Linked DNA regions of Homo sapiens: region 2 is linked to region 1. The links are contacts of gene promoters, found by promoter capture Hi-C in human tissues and cell types (Jung and others, 2019). All regions are on one chromosome and are shown on one strand. Each heading gives the region's core, a stretch centred on a gene start or on the middle of the fragment in contact. The rest is flanking DNA. Distances are from core to core; before and after follow the strand shown.

Region 1 (6,130 bases), core at 1,757-4,256:
AAACAAAAACAAAAGTCTAACATTAACATATACAGACATCTTAGTCTTCTTGTTATTGCTGTGGCCACTAAACACTTCGGGCCAATAACATAAATGGAACTAGAGCTATGATGGTTACCAGAGAACAACATATTGGTTTATGCACACAAACCAACAATTCTGATCTTACCAATGTATCTTAGAGCTTCCATTACTTTGTGTGTCTAGTTTGGAATTATACCAAGTTTTCATTAGAAATAAACCTTTAATTATACCAAGTTTTCATTAGAAATAAACCTTTCATTAGAAATAAACCTTTAATAGCAGCAAACAGTGTAGGTTTAGATGCCAGATTGTCAGGGATATCATAGGATGATAAGATTCCAGATGAAGTTCAGAAAAAGTCCATTGATGCTATCATAGTATTATTATACAACAAATAAAAATGATAAGGGGAGGAGAAAAAAATGAATTAGGTTTCTGGATCAAAGACTAAGCTTGAAACCTTATGAGGTTTACCCATCTCAAAAAGCAAAGGTTTACATAAACCATATTACCTGGAGTCTGGGTGGGAAAAGAACACTAAGGATAAAAACAATCCTTGGATCAAGACTGGTAGGGAATGATAATCAAATAATTACAATTGGTTTCATAAGTGCTACTAGAAGTATGTTTCAATATCTATAAAAGGTATAGCACAAGGTAGAAACAATTTCTGACTTGGTGCTCTTTCACAATGACTAGGCAGCTGTCCTTGGGTGATCACTTAATCTTTCTGTTCCTCAATTCTCTAATTTATAAAATAGGAATATACAGACCAGGCCGGCGCGGTGGCTCACACCTGTAATCCCAGAACTTTGGGAGGCTTAGGCAGGTGGATTATCTGAGGTCAGGAGTTTGAGACCAGCCTGGCCAACATGACGAAACCCCCTCTCTACTAAAAACACAAAAAATTAGCCGGGCGTGGTGGTGTGCGCCTGTAATCCCAGCTACTCAGGAGGCTGAGGCTGTAGAATTGCTTGAACCCGGGAGGCGGAGGTTGCAGTAAGTCGAGATCGTGCCACTTGCACTCCAGCTTGGGCAACAAGAGTGAAACTCCGTCTTGGAAAAAAAATATATATATACAGTTTGCCGTCAATATCCATGTGTTCCACATCCCTAGATTGCACCTACAGGCATAGCACATTTACACTGTTACGCAAGATAAGAAATCAAGAGATGATTTAAAGTATACAGGCAGATGTTCCTAGGCTACATGCAAATACTATGCCATTTAATGACAGGGACTTAAGCATCCTAGGGTTTTGGTATCTGTGGGAGGTCCTGGAACCAATCTCCCATGGATACCAATACCAAGGGACTAATTTAGTTGTACCCACCTGAAGGAGTTTTCTATTTTTCACTTCTGGTTTTTTGAGAGACGAGGGTCTCACTATTTTGCCCTGGCTGGCCTTGATCTCCTGGGCTCAAGCAATCCTTCTGCTTCAGCCTCCAAATGTTTTGAGTTTTAAATGTTCACAGAACAATGCTTGGTTGATGGCAAACATTCAATTTTAGGTGTTAGCTAATTTGTTATTGGGCTGAGAATTGAAGATCATAGTTTTATAAATGTTTAAAGAGTTCTTCCTAAGAGCATAAGCAAGGGAACAGAAACAAAACATGTTTGGAGAATAGAGAAGTTTCAGTGGCTGGTGTTTGGGTGGGAGTGAGGAGATGAAGAAGGAGGGACAGGTTGGAATGAATACCTTTATGGGTCTCAATTTCCCACATCTGTGAAATAGAGAAACCGCCCGTAACTGCCATATTTACTTATTCAACAAATGTTTATTGAATACCTATTTACTATGTGCCAGACACCTTTCTAGGAACTGGGAATATAGCTTGAACAGAACACAAAATGTCTTTGCCATTATGAAGTTTATGTTTTTGCGGGAAAAACGGACAAAAATAAAATTGTTAATACGTATCTTGTTATGCTACCTCCACAAAAAAGCAACTGCACAAATAATTACAAAAAGTGCTAAATGATTTGAAGGAAACAGTGATTAAATGGATAAGGTGAGGCGTCGCTGAAGAAGGATTTGTTTGGGAAGGGAAGGAGGTGACATCTGAGCTGAGACCTGAATAACAAGAAGTACGCAAAACTTAGGCGGAACGCGACGTAGGCAGAGGGAACAGAGTGCAAAGACTCGGAGGCTGGGTAGGAAGCGTTTGATGCTGCTGCCGGGTCAAAGCAAAAGCAGAAGACAGTGAGGGAGAGAGCAGTGGAGTCCAATAAAACCTCGACCTCAAGATTGAATTTTATTCTCAGTACAAGGGGTAGAAGGGGAACTCAGCAAACGAGTGGTCTGATTTTATAATTTTGAGATCACTCTGGCGGCGGAATGCAGAACAGATTCGCGAATACGAGAGAATGAGCAAGATGAAACACTTGTCAGTTAGGCCTCCATACTTAAACGCTCTCCGCTGGACATCGCCGCCAGCAAAAACCGACTCCAACCTCTCTCCTGCCAGCGTCAAGGGGAAAACAACAGGAACTGAGCAGAGGCTGCAGCTACTTCGTCCTGAACCCACCCCCAGTTCCCTACACAGCGCAGCTCCCCGTCCTCACCTGCAATTGAAGAAACTAAAGAGGAACACTCAGATATCTGGCCCCTCTTCCTGACTCACACAACCGCCTCTAGTCTTTAGGTTCCATGCCACAGGCTTAAATTGGCGGGAGAACACTAAACCCAACCCCTTTACGGCGGCCGGAAGAGACCAAGATTACTTTAGACTCGAAATAGGAAGTTGCCCCACCCTGAGTTCCGCCCATTCCGTTCTCCCGACTGCGCATTCCGGGGGTGTATTCTTGGCCCCGCCCTCTTCACGGTCTTTACACTCCCCTATGAAAGAACACCCAATCACCGCCTCGAATTGCGTTGTTATAGAAACTTTTGTTACCGCCCCTTTTTCTCCCAGCAAGCTGTGCGACGCGCCGGGCCTCCTCGCCTTTGTGCCATCCGGGTCTCTCGCGCGAGCGATTTAGTCTGAGGCGAAGCTTCGGAGCGGCCGGTACTGTTGAAAGCGACAAGTGGAGGCGCCGCTCTAGCGGCCGGGACTCTGAACTATGGCGGTAGGTACCGAATCTGAGTTTAAAGCCAGGGATATTTTTCTGCTACGTTCCAACAGTGGGTGAACGGCTCCCAGAACCTTGTTCGTGTGTATGTGTGTAGACAAAATGGCGCCGCGGCCTTCTTCTGCGCCCGCCATCATGGCTGCCTGCTGTAGGGAGGGGGAAGTAAGGCGGTGTTGGTGGGGGTGGGGAGCCGCAGGGAGTGCCTTTTTTTTTCCAGAACTTTCCTCCTCTCTTCCCCAACCCTACGTTCCTTTCGCCTCACTGAACTTCCTCCATTTTCGCTTATTCACCCTGGCTAGTGATTTATTCTAAGTTTTTTTTAGGGCCTGAGAATTTGCGGTGGAGAAAGGGGCTGGGGAAGAGAAAGACGATCAGGAGTGGTCTCTGAAAAGTATTGGGTCAAAAAGGCAGTGTCTGTAAAGGGTAGTGTGGGAGAAGAGAGCGACTTGTAGCTATTTTTTTTTTTGTACGCTCAATGAGATGCTTCTAGTTGCATAATTTCAATTAGTGTTCGTCCGTGTAAACCTTATTATTGTGTATTAACGAGCTAGGAAGGTATTGCTGAAAGGGAGTGAAAATTCAACTTAAAAGGTTGTGGAACTACCAATTCTGACTGATGCGCGGTTTCCGAAGTGGCCCGTGATGTAATCAATTTGAAGTCCGAGAAGCGTTACAGTTAAGTCTTGTCACTGACCTTGTTCCTTTAAATTTAAACCCTTCGTTGGCCGGGCGCGGTGGCTCACGCCTGTAATCCCAGCACTTTGGGAGGCCGAGGCGGGCGGATCACGAGGTCAGGAGATCGAGACCATCCCGGCTAAAACGGTGAAACCCTGTCTCTACTAAAAATACAAAAAAATTAGCCGGGCGTAGTGGCGGACGCCTGTAGTCCCAGCTACTTGGGAGGCTGAGGCAGGAGAATGGCGTGAACCCGGGAGGCGGAGCTTGCAGTGAACCGAGATCCCGCCACTGCACTCCAGCCTGGGTGACAGAGCGAGACTCCGTCTCAAAAAAAAAAAAAAAAAAAAAAAAAAAAAAAAAAAAAACTCTTCGTTGACCCCAGAGGAGCTACAGTTCGTAAATTATCTATTCTGAACAATAAGCCTGCGTGTGTATAAGATACCCAATTCTGACGGATCCACATTATTTTGTGCTTACCTCATTTTTATTCCGTTAAAAGGAAAATGTAAAGATTTTGCATTCCTTTTTACTGACTAAAAAATTACATCATTTTCGATAATAATTATGACTCTTAAACATAGTGATAGTTTTAAAGTTTGCTCTTCCTAACGATTGGAATGCCTGGGATTAGGCAGATGATTTTCTTTTTCCCCCATACCCCTCTATTATTTAGGTGATTGAGTTTAAACCCGTTTCTTTTACTGTCTTCCTTTGTTTAGTGTTTTGGGCCTCAGTATACTTAAAGAGTAATACTATTTTTCTTGGGTTGCAGGTTTTTTTGTATTTTTTCGAGACGGAGTTTTGCTCTTGTCGCCCAGGCTGGAGTGCGATGGCGCGATCTTGGCTCACTGCAACCTCCGCCTCCCGGGTTCAAGCGATTCTCCTGCCTCAGACTCCCGAGTAGCTGGGATTACAGGCGCCCACCACCACACCCGGCTAATTTTTTTATATTTTTGGTAGAGACGGGGTTTCACCACGTCGGCCAGGCTGGTCTCGAACTCCTGACCTCAGATGATCCACCCGCCTCGGCCTCCCAAAGTGCTGGGATTACAGGAGTGAGCCACCGCGCCCGGCCGGGTTCTAGTATTTTAAAAAGTGAATTTAAACATTTATTTATGCCGTGCCTTGTTCAATAAAAAGACAGTCCCCTAGAGAAGTGACCTAGTATTCAATCCAGTGCTTACCTCCTTCGCAGTGGAAAAAGATTTGTCTATGTTTCGAGCCGTTATTAGAGTTTGCAACAAAATGTAAATTATAAGAAACCAAAGTGGCTACCTCGTAGAGCCACTGCTGGAATAGAAGGCTGTTTTGCAGTTAACGTTTATGTGTACACATAGATTAGTACTAAATTAAAGCTTAGAAAATTTCAGAGCAATTTTAATACTCAGTTTTTGGTAGGTTTTTTTCCTGGATACCTGTATTATGCTACTATAAAATATCCTCAGGGAAATAAAAGTTTTCCATGGCCTCAATGACCACCTATCATTCCTATTTGTTTAGTGTTAAGATGGTTTTTGTTGTTGCTCTGTAGTATATTTTACAGATGAAAATGGTTGATGATGTAAGTTTAAGTTAGCCTATGTCACAGGGAGGTTTCTCTGTTGTCCAGCTTTGTGATGTTAAGCATGAAGTTAAAGTTAGATAAACCATTGCCTGAAAACTGCCTAGGCTAAGCACTAGATTTTCCATGAGAAGGTTGTTTTCGATTCTAGTCTTGTTCTCTGCAAAAGTAAATGGGATTTGCCACTAGTTAAGGAATTCTGTCTCTGGCAAAAGTGTCGTGCAACTGAGAGAAGTAATAGCGGTGCTTAAAATTTTCGAGATCACTTCTGTTTACCAAGTGTAAGCTGTACAAACACTCAGCAAGTAATAAATGAGTCTGAAATAGTCCTCAAGGATAACGATGAAAAAAAAAAGTGTCCAGAATTCATTGTGAAAAATCAGAATCATCCTTAATGATACAGCATTATTTATTAGTAGTAAACAGTAAAGATACGGAGATGCAGTATCATTTTAAGCAAGTCAGCTAATGTTGCTGGATCTCATCTGTGAAACGAGAAAGTTGAACTCTATTCTAAGGGGTGAAAACCTTTCAGCATAAAAATTTTATGGTTCCAGAAGTCACCCAGACTGGAGAAATAAGTACATATACAATATGCTGGCATGAGAGCCTCCCTGGTAGTTAATTTCTTACTGTTCTTTTTGTGCCATTGTTAGAGGAATAACACGTAATTTATGTCTTTCATCTCATAATTGAACTGCAAAACCTTTCTGTTTTTAATTTATCATTTTATTCCCTAAGTCTAGCATTGGTTTTGGCACATTTTTGACCCTTAGTAAATACTTGTTGAAGTA
Region 2 (6,130 bases), core at 1,891-4,390, 1.1 Mb before region 1:
CTCCCAAAGTGCTGGGATTACAGGCGTGAGCCACCACGCCCAGCCAGTGCAAATGCATTTTAAGAGCAAAGTACAAAGGTCAGTTGGGATCAGCAGAGGGTAATCAGGGCTCTGTATTTCTGTGAAGACCTGGCTGTCCTCAGTGGCATACTGGGATGCTTTGTCTCACCTAGAAGATGCAGCTTGTGTCGCAAAGCCAAGTCACATGTTCCTGGGATTGTCAGTGTATTTCCCAAGAAAAAACAAGAGTAGTGATCTCTTGGAATGAAAACAAGATAGATGATTAAGGAAATTAGGAATGTGTTCAAAAGTAAGGATTTTGAGGAATTCTACTAATTGCTCATTTTAAAGACTAAATTGGCCTTCATCCTACCAGAAAGATTCTTAAGGTTGGGCACAGTGGCTCATACCTGAGGCAGGTGGATCGCTAGAGTTCAGGAGTTGGAGACCAGCCTGGGCAATATGGCGAAACCCCATCTCTAGGGCATGGTGGCATATGCTGTGGTCCCAGCTACCTGGGAGGCTGAAATGGGAGGATCGCTTGAGCCTAAGAGGTAGAGGTTTGGGCTGAGATCATGCCACTGCACTCTAGCCTGGGCAACAGAGTGAGATCTGGTCTCAAAAAAAAAAAGAAAGATTTTTAAAACTGCATAACACTTTTGTCCAACTTCAGATCTCATCAGATTTTAAAATTTTGTTTGGTTTGTGCTGAAGTAGAAAAGAAAGTAGAGGATACCACACTTGGAAGGAAGACTGCTGTGTCAGGACATTCTTGCTTCACTTACACACATATGTACGTGTGCATGCGCCGGGCGGCAGTGTGAAGTGTATGTCTCATTGTAGGGTCATGACCAGAAAACACCCCTGGTAACAATGCCAGGGGTCTATCGCGTGTTAAGTGCGCTTTAAAAAAAACAGGTAGTTATGGGAGGAACTTACCTTGATAGAAATGGAATATTGATCTTTGCAGATGATGATGCTACTCGTTAGAGCCAAGAAAATAAAGCATGAAAAGCTTTTTTTCCCCTTAGCTACATCATGGAGAAAGCAGATCTTGTCATAGTTGGTGCTGAAGGAGTTGTTGAAAACGGAGGAATTATTAACAAGGTAAGAGCATCAGTTCTCCCCAGTTCCCTGCTCAAGACTTGGAGGTGTCTTGCTGACCTAGGACACCACAGCAGTGTTGATTATGGTTCCTTCTAATCCTGCTTCACTTCAGGACTTCATCATGGTATTGAGTTGTTGCCCATTTCCCGTAAGTCATAGCAATGGGCAGTCCAGTTTCAGTCAAATCTTTTTTAGATTGATCTACATAAATGAAGACAATGTAATTTGGTCAGGTGTGATGCCTTATACCTGTAATCCTAGCAATTTGAGAGGCCAGGGTGGGAGGATCACTTGAGGCCTTGAGTTCAAGACCAGCCTGGGCAACATAGTGAAACCCTGTCTCTACAAAAAATTAGAAAAATTAGCTGGGCGTGGTGGTGCTTGCCTGTAGTTCCAGCTGCCCAGGAAGCTGAGGCAGGAGTATCACGTGAGCCCAGGAATTTGAGGTTGCAGTAAGTTATGATCACACTACTGCATTCCAGCCTGGGCGATGGTGAGACCCTGTCTCAGTAAAAAAAAAAAAAAAAAAAGTGTAATTTATATTTATACAAAATTGGCTTGAATTGGAATTGGGGTTTGTCTGGTTTTTGCTTTATTTATGTGTATATGTATGTTTTATTTATGCATATATATACACACACATAATATATATACACAAATATTTTTAAAATATTATTTATATATTTACATATAAAGTATGTATGTATAAAATACGTGTATTTATATATAAATATTATATATATTTTAAAATAGAGACACATTCACTCTGTTGCCCAGGCTGTAGTGTAGTACAGTGATCATAGCTTACTGCAGTCTTGAACTCCTAGCCTGAAGCAATCTTTCCACTTCCCAAAGTGCTAGGATTACAGGCATGAGCCACTGTGGCCGGCCTGTCATTTGTTTTCATTTTAATTGAGCACATTTGACCTCAATTTATTACAATCTCTCTCTCCATTATTTAATTTAGAAAAGCTTCATGAAAGCTTTTTTTAGTTAAAATATATGTAACATAAGGCCGGGCGTAGTAGCTCACGCCTATAATCCCAGCACTTTGGGAGGCTGAGGCAGGTAGATCATCTGAGGTCAGGAGTTCGAGACCAGCCTGGCCAACATGGTGAAACCCCATATCTACTAAAAATACAAAAAATTAGCTGGGCATGGTGGCGGGTGCCTGTAATCCCAGCTACTTGGCAGGCTGACGCAGGAGAATCGCTTGAACCTGGGAGGCGGAGGTCTGCAGGCAGAGTGTTGAGTCACATGGTAACTATATATTTAACTTTCAGAAACTAATGATTTTCCACAGCAGCTGCACTACTTTACATTCCCACTAGCAAAGCACAAAGGTTCCAATTTCTCTACATCCTTGCCAACACTTGTTTTTTTAAATTTTTTTATTTTTTGAGATGGAGTTTCACTCTTGCTGTCCAGGCTGGAGTGCAATGGCACAGTCTTGGCTCACTGCAACCTCCAGTGCCCGGGTTCAAGCGAGTCTCCTGCTTCAGCCTCCCTAGTAGCTGGGATTACAGGCACCCCCCATCCCACCATGCCCAGCTAATTTTTTGTATTTTTAGTAGAGATGGGGTTTCCCTATATTGGCCAGCTGGTCTCAAACTCCTGACCTCAGGTGATCCACCCACCTCGGCCTCCCAAAGTGCTGGGATTACAGGCGTGAGCCACCACATCCAGCCTCTAGTGGCTGTTTCTATATCCTTTGAGAAACATTTATTTTTTTGATTCCAAAGTCAGAATTAGATATATCTAATATATGTATTAGATATATGTATATCTATATTATATACATAACTTTCTATTGCTGTTTTTTAATTGTTCCTTTATTGTAATTGAGACGAGGTCTCACCGTGTTGCCTAGGCTGGTCCCAAACTCATGGGTTCAGGTGATCCACCCACCTCGGCCTCCCAAAATGCTGGAATACAGGCATGCACCACTGTGCCCGGCCCGCTTTTCTGTGGCTTCTACTTCAGATGCACTCTAGAGCTCATCCATTCCATTTTCTGCCTTCCCAGATTGGAACCAACCAGATGGCTGTGTGTGCCAAAGCACAGAACAAACCTTTCTATGTGGTTGCAGAAAGTTTCAAGTTTGTCCGGCTCTTTCCACTAAACCAGCAAGACGTCCCAGATAAGTTTAAGGCAAGAGTTTTACATATTTGAAGGGGTACTAAAGTCTAAACAGAAACCTTTGGAAATTGTAGTCCTAAGAATGTTCCAGTAATTTTTTCACTTCCTATTGCTACTTTCCCCAACACTTGGAATACAAAGATAAATTGGTGATTGGACTCACACATTTGTCCCTAGAACTTCAGTCTTTCAGTCTCTTTAAGTAGCACCATAGATGGGTGGAGAGGAAGCCCGAAGCTGGTGGGTAAGTCCCAGCTTTGGGCTTAACTGAGCTCAGCTCCCATCACCACAACTTACAAACTGTGCGAGTTGAGGCAAGTCCTTTCATTTCAACCTCTGAACCGGTTTTCTTGTCTGTAAAATGGCATAGCAGTATCTGACAGGGTCATGAGGATTCTAAGATAATCTTAGCACAGTCCCTGGCACGCTGCAAGCTCTCTATTGTGACTCTCGATCTTCCCTTGAGAGGTCTGGAGAAGTTAATCCGGCATGAGAATGAGGGGACATGGGATTTAAGTTTGTTACACTACAGCTCTCAGCCAGCACACTGCCATGATCTGGCTCATGGCCACAACTCTGCCCTCGTCTCTAGTGTCCTGCATAGCTTAGTTTCTCCCATTTTCAGAGAGCAGTCTCAGGAAGTAGCACACTGATCACTCACACCAAGGCCCTACCAGGTCAGAGCACTAAATATTCAGTGCCGACTAATGTGTACTTCTCTCCTCAGTATAAGGCAGACACTCTCAAGGTCGCGCAGACTGGACAAGACCTCAAAGAGGAGCATCCGTGGGTCGACTACACTGCCCCTTCCTTAATCACTCTGCTGTTTACAGACCTGGGCGTGCTGACACCCTCAGCAGTCAGCGATGAGCTCATCAAGCTCTATCTGTAACCTGTGAGCCCTTTCCTGCCAAGGTGCAGCTTACGTAGTTGAGGCAGGGTGAGTAGCTGCTTGACACCCCAGTGAGTCAGGCCAAAACTGAGATGTGTTTAATGAAGATTTATGGAGTAAGGACTTAAAATCATACATCTTGGAGAACCTTTCTTACTCATTTCAGTCCCATCTAAAAATGTGTCAGCTATTCTAAATCCCAACTTAAATTGTTCTTACGGTTTCTAGAAACTTTCCTTTTCAGTTTCCAGAAATACAAGTTAGATAATTGGCTACTTAACTGATGAAAGATGAGCCCAAGTCCACCTGTCTTCATCCTCCCCTGCACTCCAGACTGATCTGCCTAAAGCACGCGAGATGCAGGCGAAAAGCAGCCACACCCCTCTGCCACAAATGACCAACAGCTGGTCAGGACGTTACACGCGGTGCCTTGTAAGAGGCAAGAAACACTTGCTGAATCTGCATCTGGCTTCCAGTGGTAAGCACATTCCTCAGCAGGATCAAGCCAAACAGTAAAAACTACCAAGAGAACACGAGGAAGGCAGAAACGATGTTTAGCAACAGTATTCTGCATGGTTCACTGCTTAAGAAAATGCCTTCTGGAATATTTGTAAACTGAAATTCTGTATGTGTAAGAGATGTTTAAATATGTTTGGGTCCTAAACAGCTTTTTAAAATTATACTTGGGAATAAATTCAGCATCTTTTCAAATAAACTCTATGAAAGACGCTGATGTGGTGTTGCATCAATACTGCAAGCTGACCAGGCCATCTAGGGGAAAACACTGTCCAGCTACATTTACACACTTAAGACCCAGGCAATCAGGACACCATTTATTCAACAGGAGGCATAAAAACTATAATTCTCTTTCCCGGAATATGACTTAATCCCTCTGTTTTTCAGCTATTCACCAATAAAACAATACTGTGACTATTAACACAGAAAAACCCCAGCACATTAGCCACCCCTGCAGGACATCAAAGGATAACTGAAGCCCAGGGCCAAGCACATTCAGGAGGTCAAATGCCTGAAGATACTGAGGAATGGTTTTGAAAATCAGAAGTCAAGAAGACTTCTGTATCTTTATGTTTAAAAATAACTATAAAATAGCCTCAGAAAAAAGAGCTTATATATATATATATATATATATATATATATATATATATATATATATAATATGTACATATGTCTATATGTGACCCATCATGATAAATACTGACATCTATTATTTACACTCAAATAATTTTACATTTTCTTCTGTTAGACTACTCCAAGACTGGAATTGTTTTGTTTTGTTGTTTTTAATGAGAGGGTCTCGCTGTGTTCCCAGGCTGGTCTTGAACTCCTGGGCTCAAGTGATCCTCCTGCCTCAGCCTCCCAAAGTGCTGGGATTATAGGCAGGAGCCACCGCACCCGGCCAAGACTGGAATGTTTTTAGTAAAATATTCTGAAGTGTGAAATCCTTCATTTCTCCCTCATCTGAAAGGACAGCTTTCAGAGACATCATTCTTTTCAGATGTCTCCTGAAGTTGTGATTTTCGTTAAAAGCAAACTGGAGCCATCCACCAAGTTAGGGAACAGCTATGTCCTTGTGGGTTCATCTGTGGCACTGGAATCAGCAGTCATCTTCCAAATCTGAGATCCCTAAATCCACTGTCTTGATTGTTCTTTTGCCAGTTGTCAACAAGCCCTTCTCAAATTCTTCTTCAGTTATTTTGCCTTTCTTAAGTTTTTTCAAGAGTCTTGTGTCATTAAGAAGTTCTTCCATGTCCTCATCTTCAATATCAGAACCCTAAGTGCAGAAGAAACCAATAAACTACTAAATTTTTCAGCAATAGTGTTGTAGTGAAACCAGCAGTTTTAACTCAAGAACTATAAGCTCTCAGATTGGCTTCTGCAAATAGAGCAAATTCCCCACCCTGGTCGCCAACGTAACAGAAATCTGACAGCCCCACACAATTCCTATTTAAAGAACTACTACAATAAATTTGT

The links. Contacts are between HindIII fragments. The study calls those that stand out against the background at their distance.
Region 2: a contact is called between a fragment that was not itself captured here and the fragment with the promoter of RSRC2 in region 1, in 1 of the 25 tissues and cell types used here (dorsolateral prefrontal cortex).

What each region holds. Positions count from the first base shown.
Region 1 is chr12:122,523,812-122,529,941 of GRCh38, reverse strand. RSRC2 (arginine and serine rich coiled-coil 2) reads left to right here and starts at 3,006. Exons shown (of 10, transcript NM_023012.6): 1 at 3,006-3,094. The coding sequence starts at 3,089. It overlaps KNTC1 (kinetochore associated 1), which reads right to left and starts at 2,693. Exons shown (of 64, transcript NM_014708.6): 1 at 2,591-2,693. RefSeq lists enhancers at 660-759, 2,867-3,326. The HindIII fragment of the contact is 3,842 bases long and covers 234-4,075 here.
Region 2 is chr12:123,619,764-123,625,893 of GRCh38, reverse strand. EIF2B1 (eukaryotic translation initiation factor 2B subunit alpha) reads left to right here. Exons shown (of 9, transcript NM_001414.4): 7 at 1,032-1,107; 8 at 3,133-3,258; 9 at 3,974-5,488. The coding sequence ends at 4,138. It overlaps DDX55 (DEAD-box helicase 55), which reads right to left. Exons shown (of 14, transcript NM_020936.3): 14 at 4,951-5,930. The coding sequence ends at 5,754. Among named protein-coding and RNA genes, the nearest start is that of SNORA9B, 6.1 kb to the right of the region's middle. RefSeq lists an enhancer at 3,318-4,517. The HindIII fragment of the contact is 7,939 bases long and covers 1-6,130 here.